Linked DNA regions of Homo sapiens: region 1 is linked to region 2. The links are contacts of gene promoters, found by promoter capture Hi-C in human tissues and cell types (Jung and others, 2019). All regions are on one chromosome and are shown on one strand. Each heading gives the region's core, a stretch centred on a gene start or on the middle of the fragment in contact. The rest is flanking DNA. Distances are from core to core; before and after follow the strand shown.

Region 1 (6,072 bases), core at 510-3,009, 91 kb before region 2:
TCTTCTCTGTTGCCCAGGCTGATCTCAAACTCCTGGGCTCAAGCGATCCTCCTACCTTGGCCTCCCAAAGTAGTGGGATTACAGGCATGTCTGCTCCTTATTTGAATTTTACATTTGCCTCTTTCTTGCTCCCTAGGAGTCAAGACTCAGAGCCAAACATTATGGAGCTCATATGATTTGCAACTCAAAAATCACAGTTCCCATCCTCAAGTAATCATACATGGCCCAACTTCCAATTTCAATGCAGTAGTGACACTGGGCTGGACTGTCCATAGTCCCAATCCCATCAAGACTGCTGGGAGTATTAGCAGCTAAATTCAGTTGTTCTCCAGGAATTACCCTCAGCCTCTGTGGGTAATTCATGCCAATAACTGTTCAATTAGAGGGTATACAGGTCCAGCTCACTTGCTTTAAGTTGAGACAACTCTGAAGAATCATCCCAATTCTAGGGCTCTCAGTGAGTTGGCTGAGGCTTTGTTGCAGCTGCATCCCAGTTCAATCCTCCATCTGTCCTGTCACATTTTCTTTGTTCCCCAAAATTTCTGCATGCAAATCTCCATTGCAAAGTCTTCCCAAGCCAATTTAAGATAGCTGGTGCCAGGGGCTGTCATAGGAAGTAGCCACTAAAATGGATTTCAGAGCTGAATCATGGAGCATGAATAGCCCATGGCATGTTACAGGAAAGCAAATAAGATCTTAATCAATGGCAAACTAACTGGGAATGTGGAAGAAGGCAACATACTGGCATTGGCAGAATCCCAGGCATTAGAAAAATTGGGGGCACAGAGTAATTATATGCATGATAGTTATAAATAATGGGGAATTGAATAGCTGTTTCTGGGACAATAAATGCATTTGAGAAAGAAAGTGAAAGTCGGAGGGTGATTAATTACCAATAAAACCCAAATATGAAATCTAGACACATTCCTTGGCAGCATACAAATAGCCTTTCATCTCCTGTAGCTAACGGGGGGAAACACAACTGAGGATCTGGCCCAGAGTTTACTGCAAGGATAGTGGCAGTATAAAGGCTGAATCCTCAAACTAGGAAAGTCTGTAATGGTAAGGTCCCAGCCCAGACTGAGCCCTGAAACACTGGATGAAGATAACCAAGTAGATTCACTTGAATATCTTGAATCCCAAACCCCCTTCAATCCTCTTGGCCTGTAGAAGTGGCCTACTCCTCTCTATTAAAGGTTGGCACTCCATCCTTGCATAAGATGTTGCAGAAGCCTCTGCCTAGCAAGATAACATGCACCCACCTCGAGAACTACCTCCTCTTTGCCACAGGCCAGTAACTAAAGCATGTTATAACCCAGCCAGGGAAATACTGGCCTGTAACTAAGGAAAGGGGCTCTATATGCCCTAGAATTGCTGTGGGTGTCACCCAACATATAACAGCAGGAGTCAAGTATAAGAGTGAGAATGCTGGATGTTAGCCTAGAGAAGGGAGAGTTTCTCAATTTAGAAGCACTCTCCCAAGATACATGATTTAACACCGTAGCAAGGATGCTGTAAGAGAGTGCTAACAATCTGATGGGTGGATCTTGCAGGGTTAGAGAAAAAGATGTCCCATACTACGTTAAGTAGGAATGCCATAACTGCCAAGGCAGACAGCAGAGAAAAGGATCAAAACATCCAGAGAAGTGGATATGATACAGTGCACATACTACCTAAGGCTGTAAAATACATCAGCTACTATGATGTGTGGGAGGGCCTCAAGGGACATTGCATAACAAACAAATGCCCTAGAGAGGCACTGGGGTCATTGAGAAACCCATTAGGCCAAGGTAAGGGCAGGAAATGCCATTAGAGAGCTGAACTCCTTGGTAGCCAAGGGGATAATGGGATCTGAGAGACCGAAAATACAAATGAACAATGTCCAGACCACACATGACAGTAGAAATCTTACCCATAACCTCTGCAGCAACTATCCCAGAAGCCAAACCATAGTCTCTGCAGTAACTGGCCCCAAAATGGTCCAGACTTGTTCAATAACTGCCAGGTGTTCTAATTCTCACCCTCACTTCCAACTCAGGACCAACCAGAAAAAGCCAAATATGCTATGCCTAAGATACAAGGTGCACAAACCAACCAATCACATAGGATGCCCCACCTCTAGTTAGTCCACCTCCAGCTTCCCTATGCCAGCAACTTCCAATCAGACATATCTGAAGCCTTCCCCTTTTTCACTATAAAATTTTCCAACTCACCTGCCTGCCAATAAGTCTCTATCAAATGCAAGTGATGGGGCTAACTCCCTTGCTATAGAAAGCTCTAAATAAATTGCCTCTGCTTGTTCCCATTTAGGTGGTCTTCGCTTATTTTCCATTTTTTTGTGAGATATGGTACACACAGCCCAGTGTGGTAAGTCAGCACTAGGTCTGAACTCTTTCTTTGCATTGAGTTCCCTGTCCATTTACTCTCAGTTTGGTATCCACGTTTCGTTATCAGTTCCATTTGTTCGGCAGCCTTGATGGAATCAAACCATTTCTTTTCATCTCCTTTTACTCGCTTTTGTGTTTCCATTTTGTGTTGTATGGTCTAAAACTGTTGTTTATCACAAGAAAGAAAATCGCAGGGTACAACACAGTCATAGGCTCTACACGCCTGTTGTTTGAGCCAGCCTCACAGTCCGGTGAGTTGGGCAGGCCTCACAGTCGGTGAGTTTGCAGTTCTCACCAGATAAGCTTCCATTTGGACAAACTTTTCTGTGGATTATCAATAAAAGTGGGTGAGGTTTTCCTGTTTTTATGTTTTGTTTTTAGAGCTTGGCTTTGATCCAGAAAGTGTTCTCTCTGGTTTTCCATCTACCACAGTCCACATTCAGAGGCACTGACTATCAGTTTGGGAGCCTCTGACACAGAAGCACCAGCACCACATTTTGCTGACCATCACCATCTCTTATGGAGTTATCTAAGTCTAAATCCTCTCCTTTTACAGAAAAAAATGCCTGCTTCTTATATGTGTTCTCATTTAGAATCCTAATTCTTGTCCCTGTCTTTCTAAATGGCATAATTTTACCAAGGGTGATGTGAGCCTTTAATGGCTACTGTGGAGAACATTTAACTTGAAATCATTCACTTGAGAGGCACCTTAGAAAAAAATGGAAATAAAATTTCTCATGTTCAATGAGCAGCATTTTTAGTTATATAGAGGTCTCCAGATGAAACTCTAAATCGAAAATGGCTTCATTAAAAGATTATTTGGCCAAAGCTAATGTGCAGTTTGACAACAATGAACTAGATTCATTTCCCTGGTAAATCCTCTGTCCTCGTCCACCAGTTCCCTCTCTATAACCAGATCTCCCTCTGCCCCTTATCCTCCCAATCTCTCTCCTTCTATACCTCCATCAACTCCTCCCTCCAGTTGTCCTTGTTCAGGCCCCCTACCTTTTCCCAACAACTTTCTCCAAAACCTAAAATGCCAGTTGCCTCTTAAGACCCATCCCTCCATGAACCAGGTATTCAGACAACTGGCGAATTTAAAGCTTGGACCTGAGCGGAATTAAGAGCTGTAAGTTTCCCTAAATGCAGACAAGACTAGTAAATATTCATAGAATAGTTTAAAATCCTTTTGGGTACACCTGACCCAGAATTACCTGACTTATATCAACTCATACACATATGGGTCAGAACCACAGATGCTAAATCCTAGATGGCAAAAGTTGATTGGACTGACCCAGAGGACCTACAGGATATCTCTTTCCATAAAAAACCTGCAGTTCAGAAAAACCCTGAAAAGTAAGGTGAAGTCTCCGAGAAGCCATACCCAAAACACTTCCAATAAAAATTAATGCAAGGGCTACCATTTCTACATTAAATACTGTGCCTTTGTGCTCTCTTCTTCAGAGTAATGGTACTGCACAGGTGGCAGGCATTTCAAATAACACAAATTTTCCCTGTCTTCCAGCCTTTAACTGTAACCCTTGGGCCTTTGCCTGGAAATATTCCTTCTTGTTCTGTGATAATACACCTGCAAATTTAATAAGGAGAGATATACTTTATACATGAGATTGCAATCATAAATGCACACCAGAGGGAGCATTTCTTAAGTTTCCAGAGGACTCCTCTATTCATAATCAAGTTGTGTTTGTTCTGAATATACCTTTGCATTCTGTATTTTATTTGATGCATACCCCAGATAAAGATCTTGACACTATTCCATGACCTTCTATGGGCTAAAAATTTCACTGGCATAGGAAAAATAACGAGAGCAGAATCTATAAAAGTTCAGATAGATCCTACCAAGCCATTACTCAAACTTCTCCAATATCCCTTGAAGCCAAAGGAAGGGCTCAAACTATGGTTAAAGGCCTTACATACAAAAGTCTTCTCATACTCTGCACTAGCCGTTGTAACACTCCCATCCTCCGAGTAAAGAAACAAAGCGACAAAGATACCAATTTGTTCAAGACCTCAAGGCCATCAACAAAATCGTTATACCTCATTTCCTGATAGAACTTGACCCAATTTGTTCAAGACCTCAAGGCCATCAAGAAAATCATTATACTTCATTTCCTGATAGAACTTGACCCAAATACCATTCTGTCATAAATTTCCACCTGAAGTTATTTGCTTCACAGTATCGGATCTTTGCTCTGCCTCTTTCAGTGTACTTCTGAATAAGGATAGTCAATACCTTTTTGCATTCACCTAAGGCGGACAATAATGTACTTAGACAGTCATACCCCAGGAGTTCACTAGAGCCCCCTCCAATTTTCCCAGGTCTTCAATCAAGACTTAAAAGACCTAAAATTTCCCCTTGCGATTCAGTTCTGACATAAAATGTAAATGATATCCTACTTTATTCAGAGAACAAGGAAGTCTATAAAAAGGATTCCGTTTAGTTGCCCCTAGCCTTAGCAGAAAAGAAACATAAACGTTTCAAAAGATAACTTACAATTTTTTCCAAACTGCAGCCTATTATTTAGAGCATGACCTAACTGAGGAAGATAAACCATTCTCTACTGATACGCTAAAGACTATCCAAAAATATTCTAGACCCCTCACAAAAGACAACTAAGAGTATTTTGGAGTTTAACTGGATATTACAGACAATGAGTGCCAAATTTTTCTAGGATTGAAATACCGTTTTATGAATTGACTAAGTCCTCAGTAAGAGACCCTCTCCTAAGGAAATCAAAAGTGAACAGGTTTTCTGTAACCTGAAAAAGACGTTCAACAGCCTCTTTCTCTAGGCATCCCAAACTACAAAAATCTCTTTGTCTATTTGTGCATAAGCAATCCGGACAAGCCCTTGGGTTTTAACGCAAATTGATAGGAACCACTAAAAACATATTGCTCCAAAAACTGGAAGCAACCAAGCTGTCCTTCAATAGGTAGATGGATAAACAAACTGTAGTTCATCCATACAATGAAATATTATTCAGCTATAAAAAGAAATGATCTATCAAATCATGAAAAGGTACGGGGAAGTCTTAAAATGCATATTACTAAGTGAAAGAAACTAATCTGAAAAAGCTACATACTCTATGACATTCTGGAAAAGATGAAACTGTGGAAACAGTAAAAATATTAGTGGTTGTCAAGTGTTTGGAGGTGAAAAGAGGAGTGAATGGGTGGAACACAGAGGACCTCTAGGGGGATGAAACTATTCTGGATAATACTATGATGGTAGATATAGGACGTTATGCATTTTTCAAAACTCATAGAACTGTACAACACAAAGAGTGAACTTCAGTGTAAACTATGGACTTTAGCTAATAATGATGTATCAGTATTGGCTTACGAATTCTAACAAGGGTCTCATGGCAATGCAAGAGTTAATAGAAGGGGAAACTGTGAGGGGGAGGGATGGTATATGGAAATTCCTTGCTATCTACTCAATTTTCTGTAAACCTAAAACTGTTGCAAAAAGTCTTCTTAAAATCTATATTTAAAAAAATAAGAAAAAAGATCCTTTAGAGAAGTTAACTTCAAGGATAATATTTTTAAATGATCTTACATTAAAAACCAGGTTGATACCCTCACAGCATAAAATAAAGGGGACTTGCTTGATGTACAATAAATGGGACTCTGTTAGAAGTTCGAGGCAAGCTCTACACATCAC
Region 2 (5,327 bases), core at 1,333-3,832:
GCCCCTGGCTTTTCCGCAGAAGCCTGGAGGGGACCTGAAAGTAATCATTCTGCCAGCTTTCCCGCCCGCATTTTCTTGCCTGTTTTCTGAGCCTTCGAATGCCGGACAGCCATGTGAAGGCACATCTTGGGGAGACCGATTCCAGCCCTTCCCAGGGTGCACGCATCAGGCATCCTCTTCTTCACCAGGGCTGGGGATTCTGTTCCTCTACGGGACAGTCAGAAATCAGTATTTTCAGAGCAGAACTCCTTTCTATTCTGAAAATCCTTCAGAGGAACTCCTTCATTTGCCCCCAACCCCTACACACACACACACACACACACACACGCACATGCATACACACACAGGCTCTTTAAAGGCTGAAAAGGGAGCCGAGTGTGGAATTCAGGGAAGTGATGACACACACAACAATGCTGTTACACCTGGCTGCTGCAGGGCTGAGCAGCGGAAATGCCTGTGAGAAGAAGAAAGAAAGACAGAGAGACGCAGAGAGCCAGCCTGGGTGGTCAAGAAAAAAAAAAAGGAGAGAAAAGGAGAGAGGAGCCCCCACCAGGATGGGGCCAGACCCAGCTGTTTTTCCCCCTGCCCAGGCCCTGGCTGGGGGAGGATAGGCACTGAGGCCAATCTGCAGCAGCCCCAAACCGGACTCACCACTCCCACCCAAAGCTTGGGCAAGGATGGGGGTAAGGAAGAAGAAAAACATCTGCACTCCTGCTCAGAAAGCAGCAGCAGGGATTCTGCGGAAGTGCTGCTTCCCCCATGTCTGTTGGGTGCAGTGGGAGACCGCCCATAAAAAAAACCAAGCTACTTTGGGGATAGCCTTGCTCCCTCTCATCCTTGTGACCAGGCAAGGGCTGCCCTGCTGACCTCTCTGGTGTCATCTTCAAGATGCTGAATTCCAAAGAGCCCTACCACCCTTGTCCTCCCTCCCTTTCATCTCAGAATGCAGATCAGAGGCCTGAGTGAGCAGCAGACAACACTTGTAGATGGCCTGTGGATGCTGGAACCACAGGCCGCTGAAGGCTCCTTGGGCTTCAGGAGAACCCTCAGAGTCTAAACAGCCTGGGAGGAAGAGGCAGTGACAGGCATTGAGTCAGCCACTCCAGACATGCCAATCACTAATGCACAGCTATATGACATCCATTCAGTCCACCTTCCTCCATAAGGTGGCCTTGCCCCCCTCCTCAGCACCAAGGAGTTTGGGGCTTGAGGATTCAAAACACTGGCCATCTCTCTCATACTTTATGACTGCAGACTTTTTGTTTAGGCCAAGTTAAAAGGCACTGTTAAGGAGCACACTGTTAAAAGGCACACCTGATTTTCCCTGAAACAATCTCTGTACATGCTGAAATAATTGGATTCCCATCAGAATTCTGCTTAAGGTAGGTGACAACTAACTCCTGATTCTTTGGAGAAAGATCAGAACAAATGTCTCATCAGGAGAGAGATTTGAACAAGTCCCTCCCTCAGCCTGATGTTTGTCTTCCCAGTCTGTGGCAAAATACATACACTGGGAGGGAAAGAGGCATCGAAGAATTGTGAAAGAAAGGAAGAAAGGGGGGAAGGAAAGAAGTAAGAAAGGAGAAAAAGAGAAGATGCTATATCCACCAGCTACATTTACTCTAATACTTGATGAACATATTACATAACTATCAGTATAAGTGTGTTTTACCTCGTAAATACAAATCTCACACCTTGTACATGTGCATACCTGTGTTTCTGAGCAGCACACATGCACCTGGTATCTCACCCATCTCAAGGACAGCTCCTCTCCATGACTTCCATATGTGACCCCTGTGCACACACATACACAGTCCCGCAAAGTCCCGGGCAACAGCCCCGCCTGTGTTAGTGCAATAGCTGAGGGGCATCTACTTGGTGCTGTTAAAGCACACATCCAACCTTCACTCCAACCCCGTAGGATTAGTACACGGATTCCTGGTTCCTAGATCCACTGGTAACGCAGGGAGAGGCAGAGGTGATTCAGGCGGCGCCCCTGACGACTATTTCCAGAGATCCTCTCCCCTGCCCCATTCCAGCCCAGTCACTCTGAGAGCGCGAGGGACAGGCCAGGCCGAGGCTTCTTCGTACAGTCACACCCGTTTCTGGGCTGACTTTCCCAAAGCCTCAGAGCAGCTCTCCCCACCCTACCCCGTCCAGCCCCCTCGCCGTCTCGCCCCTCCCCAGCCCCGAGCTAGAAGTTCAGCCTCAAGACGGCAGCAAACGGCAGAGCAAAGGAGTCGTTTTCTTTCACCTGAAAGCCGCGAGGAGGCTTGGAGCGCCTTTCCTCGCTGGGGCCCGAGCTTCCTGGGCTTTGGCCGGGTGCGGGCAGACCCCACCGGGGTCCTCGTCATCTCCCAGCCCAGCCCGCAGAGCGAGTACCGGCAGATTTCAAGGGCGCGTGAGCCTGGCTGTCGGCTGGGCCCCTGAGGCTCGCTGGGCGGGGGCAGGCCGGTCCAGGCTGTGCGGGGCGTTTACAAAAAGTGACTTGGAGATGAACTCGCCCGTGCGCGGCTGGCCGCCCCGCTATAGGGGCGAAGGCGCCTGACGCAAGCGGAACTCGGTGGAGCCCATACGAATCAGAACAGAGCGAGGCTCCTGGCGCACTAGGGACTCCAGGAGGCAGCTCCGCCAGAGACGCGGGTCGTGCTTCGGGAAACCGGGGGGCGGGGGGAGGGGAAGAGCGCAGAAAAGAAAACCCACCAAGGCGGGGACTGGCCTGAGCGGGGAGGGGCGGCGAGGCCGGAGCCCCTCTCTGTTGGGCGGACTCCCCATGGCCAGAGGCTGAGCTCCACTCCCGCCGGCCGCTCCCTAGGGGAAGGGGAAGGAGAGGGGAGAGCAGCGACAGGCCTCCAGCAAGCAAGCGCGGGCGGCATCCGCAGTCTCCAGAAGTTTGAGACTTGGCCGTAAGCGGACTCGTGCGCCCCAACTCTTTGCCGCGCCAGCGCCTGGAGCGGAGAGCAGAGGCGGCCCGGCCGCGGCGCGCCGGCTTTGTCATGATGGCCAGCTACCCCGAGCCCGAGGACGCGGCGGGGGCCCTGCTGGCCCCAGAGACCGGTCGCACAGTCAAGGAGCCAGAAGGGCCGCCGCCGAGCCCAGGCAAGGGCGGTGGGGGTGGCGGCGGGACAGCCCCGGAGAAGCCGGACCCGGCGCAGAAGCCCCCGTACTCGTACGTGGCGCTCATCGCCATGGCGATCCGCGAGAGCGCGGAGAAGAGGCTCACGCTGTCCGGCATCTACCAGTACATCATCGCGAAGTTCCCGTTCTACGAGAAGAATAAGAAGGGCTGGCAAAATAGCATCCGCCACAACCTCAGCCTCAACGAGTGCTTCATCAAGGTGCCGCGCGAGGGCGGCGGCGAGCGCAAGGGCAACTACTGGACGCTGGACCCGGCCTGCGAAGACATGTTCGAGAAGGGCAACTACCGGCGCCGCCGCCGCATGAAGAGGCCCTTCCGGCCGCCGCCCGCGCACTTCCAGCCCGGCAAGGGGCTCTTCGGGGCCGGAGGCGCCGCAGGCGGGTGCGGCGTGGCGGGCGCCGGGGCCGACGGCTACGGCTACCTGGCGCCCCCCAAGTACCTGCAGTCTGGCTTCCTCAACAACTCGTGGCCGCTACCGCAGCCTCCCTCACCCATGCCCTATGCCTCCTGCCAGATGGCGGCAGCCGCAGCGGCTGCAGCAGCTGCGGCTGCAGCCGCGGGCCCCGGTAGCCCTGGCGCGGCCGCTGTGGTCAAGGGGCTGGCGGGCCCGGCCGCCTCGTACGGGCCGTACACACGCGTGCAGAGCATGGCGCTGCCCCCCGGCGTAGTGAACTCGTACAATGGCCTGGGAGGCCCGCCGGCCGCACCCCCGCCTCCGCCGCACCCCCACCCGCATCCGCACGCACACCATCTGCACGCGGCCGCCGCACCGCCGCCTGCCCCACCGCACCACGGGGCCGCCGCGCCGCCGCCGGGCCAGCTCAGCCCTGCCAGCCCAGCCACCGCCGCGCCCCCGGCGCCCGCGCCCACCAGTGCGCCGGGCCTGCAGTTCGCTTGTGCCCGGCAGCCCGAGCTCGCCATGATGCATTGCTCTTACTGGGACCACGACAGCAAGACCGGCGCGCTGCATTCGCGCCTCGATCTCTGAGAGCCCACCGCATGCCGGTGCAGACGGATGCGAGGATGCAGGGACGCGCGACGCCGGCCCCGGTCGCAGCCGACGACGCCGCCGCCAGCCTGACCTCACACCCTCTGGGCCCGCCTCTGGAGCCAGCGCCCAGGGTCCCTCTGTGCTTTTTCGCTTTCCTAAGCTCCTGTCGCTCCTCTTTGTCCCCTCAGTTTATGTCCTCCTGTGCTCACCTCCCTGACCTCTGTGACCTTGCACTCCCCTGGCCTGAAGCTGCCTCTCTGCGCGCTTTCTACTGGGCTCGTCTCTTTCCGGAGCCCCAGCGTCTCCTGCCCAAATTCACCGCGGAAAGGGCCCGGGGCGGAGGTGCGACCGGGCGTCGGCAGCGCAGACCTCTTGGCCTTCTCTCACAGGTCGGTGCGCTCGCTCTCCGCGTTCCCCGCCCGACTGCCGTGCAGTCCATGGCTAGACGCGCCGGACAGGACTGATGGCGGGACCGCGCTGCCCGAGAAAGGGACGGACCAATACGTGTGTTTGCTCCGCGAACCCTCTTGAAGCTGTTCAGAAGCCGCTTGCCGCGGGGCCCACTAGGCGGGGCGGGGGTTGGGACCCAGCGGGAGCCGGGGCAGCCTGGCTCCACGGCCTGTACTCGGTTTACACCGCGGGCGGGCGCGGAGGGAGGCTGCGTTTCCTCCGCTATCAGTCCCGTCGCTTCGGGCACCTCCGGGCCCCGGCGGCTGGCTAATGTTTTGTTTGAAAGATCGGTGGAACTTTTTAAGAGAGTATTTAAAAAAAAAAAAAGGAAAAAAAATTCACCGGGCAACCGGGGAAGTATTGTGGCCTTGGAGTTTGCTAAATCCAAATATGAAAATCAAAAGCTTTAGTATTCCTCATCTTCTCTTCTGGAAGATTTGCGTTAGAGTTTTTGTTGGGCCTTCAAAAAGCTGTGTTCAGAGTTAGGAGAATATATCCAATAAAAGATGGTTTCGTCTACCAATTGGGGAAGTTTCACCCTCTCCCTATCTGAAGAAAAAAATCAAAAACAAATGTCCCCGGATCTTTCGATGCAAGTCCTGGAGGCAGGGAGATCACTGCCTGCCTGGCCCACGCTGCTGGGACGGCTCGTCCTCCCTGCTTTTTGTTTTTCAAACCTCCTGCTTCTCCCACCTTGGGAAGGAGAAATGTGAAACCCGGCAGCGGCCGACCTAGGCGGTCTTGTGG

Evidence for each region. Contacts are between HindIII fragments. The study calls those that stand out against the background at their distance.
Region 1: a fragment that was not itself captured here is called in contact with the fragment with the promoter of FOXL2 in region 2 in 2 of the 25 tissues and cell types used here (H1 embryonic stem cells and thymus).

Annotation. Positions count from the first base shown.
Region 1 is chr3:139,034,257-139,040,328 of GRCh38, reverse strand. No RefSeq gene overlaps it. Among named protein-coding and RNA genes, the nearest start is that of PRR23C, 7.6 kb to the left of the region's middle. The HindIII fragment of the contact is 8,593 bases long and covers 1-6,055 here.
Region 2 is chr3:138,944,392-138,949,718 of GRCh38, reverse strand. It overlaps FOXL2 (forkhead box L2), which reads left to right and starts at 2,582. Exons shown (of 1, transcript NM_023067.4): 1 at 2,582-5,327. The coding sequence starts at 2,997. The coding sequence ends at 4,127. FOXL2NB (FOXL2 neighbor) reads right to left here and starts at 2,502. Exons shown (of 3, transcript NM_001040061.3): 1 at 2,255-2,502; 2 at 80-199. The coding sequence starts at 2,354. RefSeq lists a silencer at 2,338-2,566 and an enhancer at 4,607-5,196. The HindIII fragment of the contact is 6,167 bases long and covers 1-5,327 here.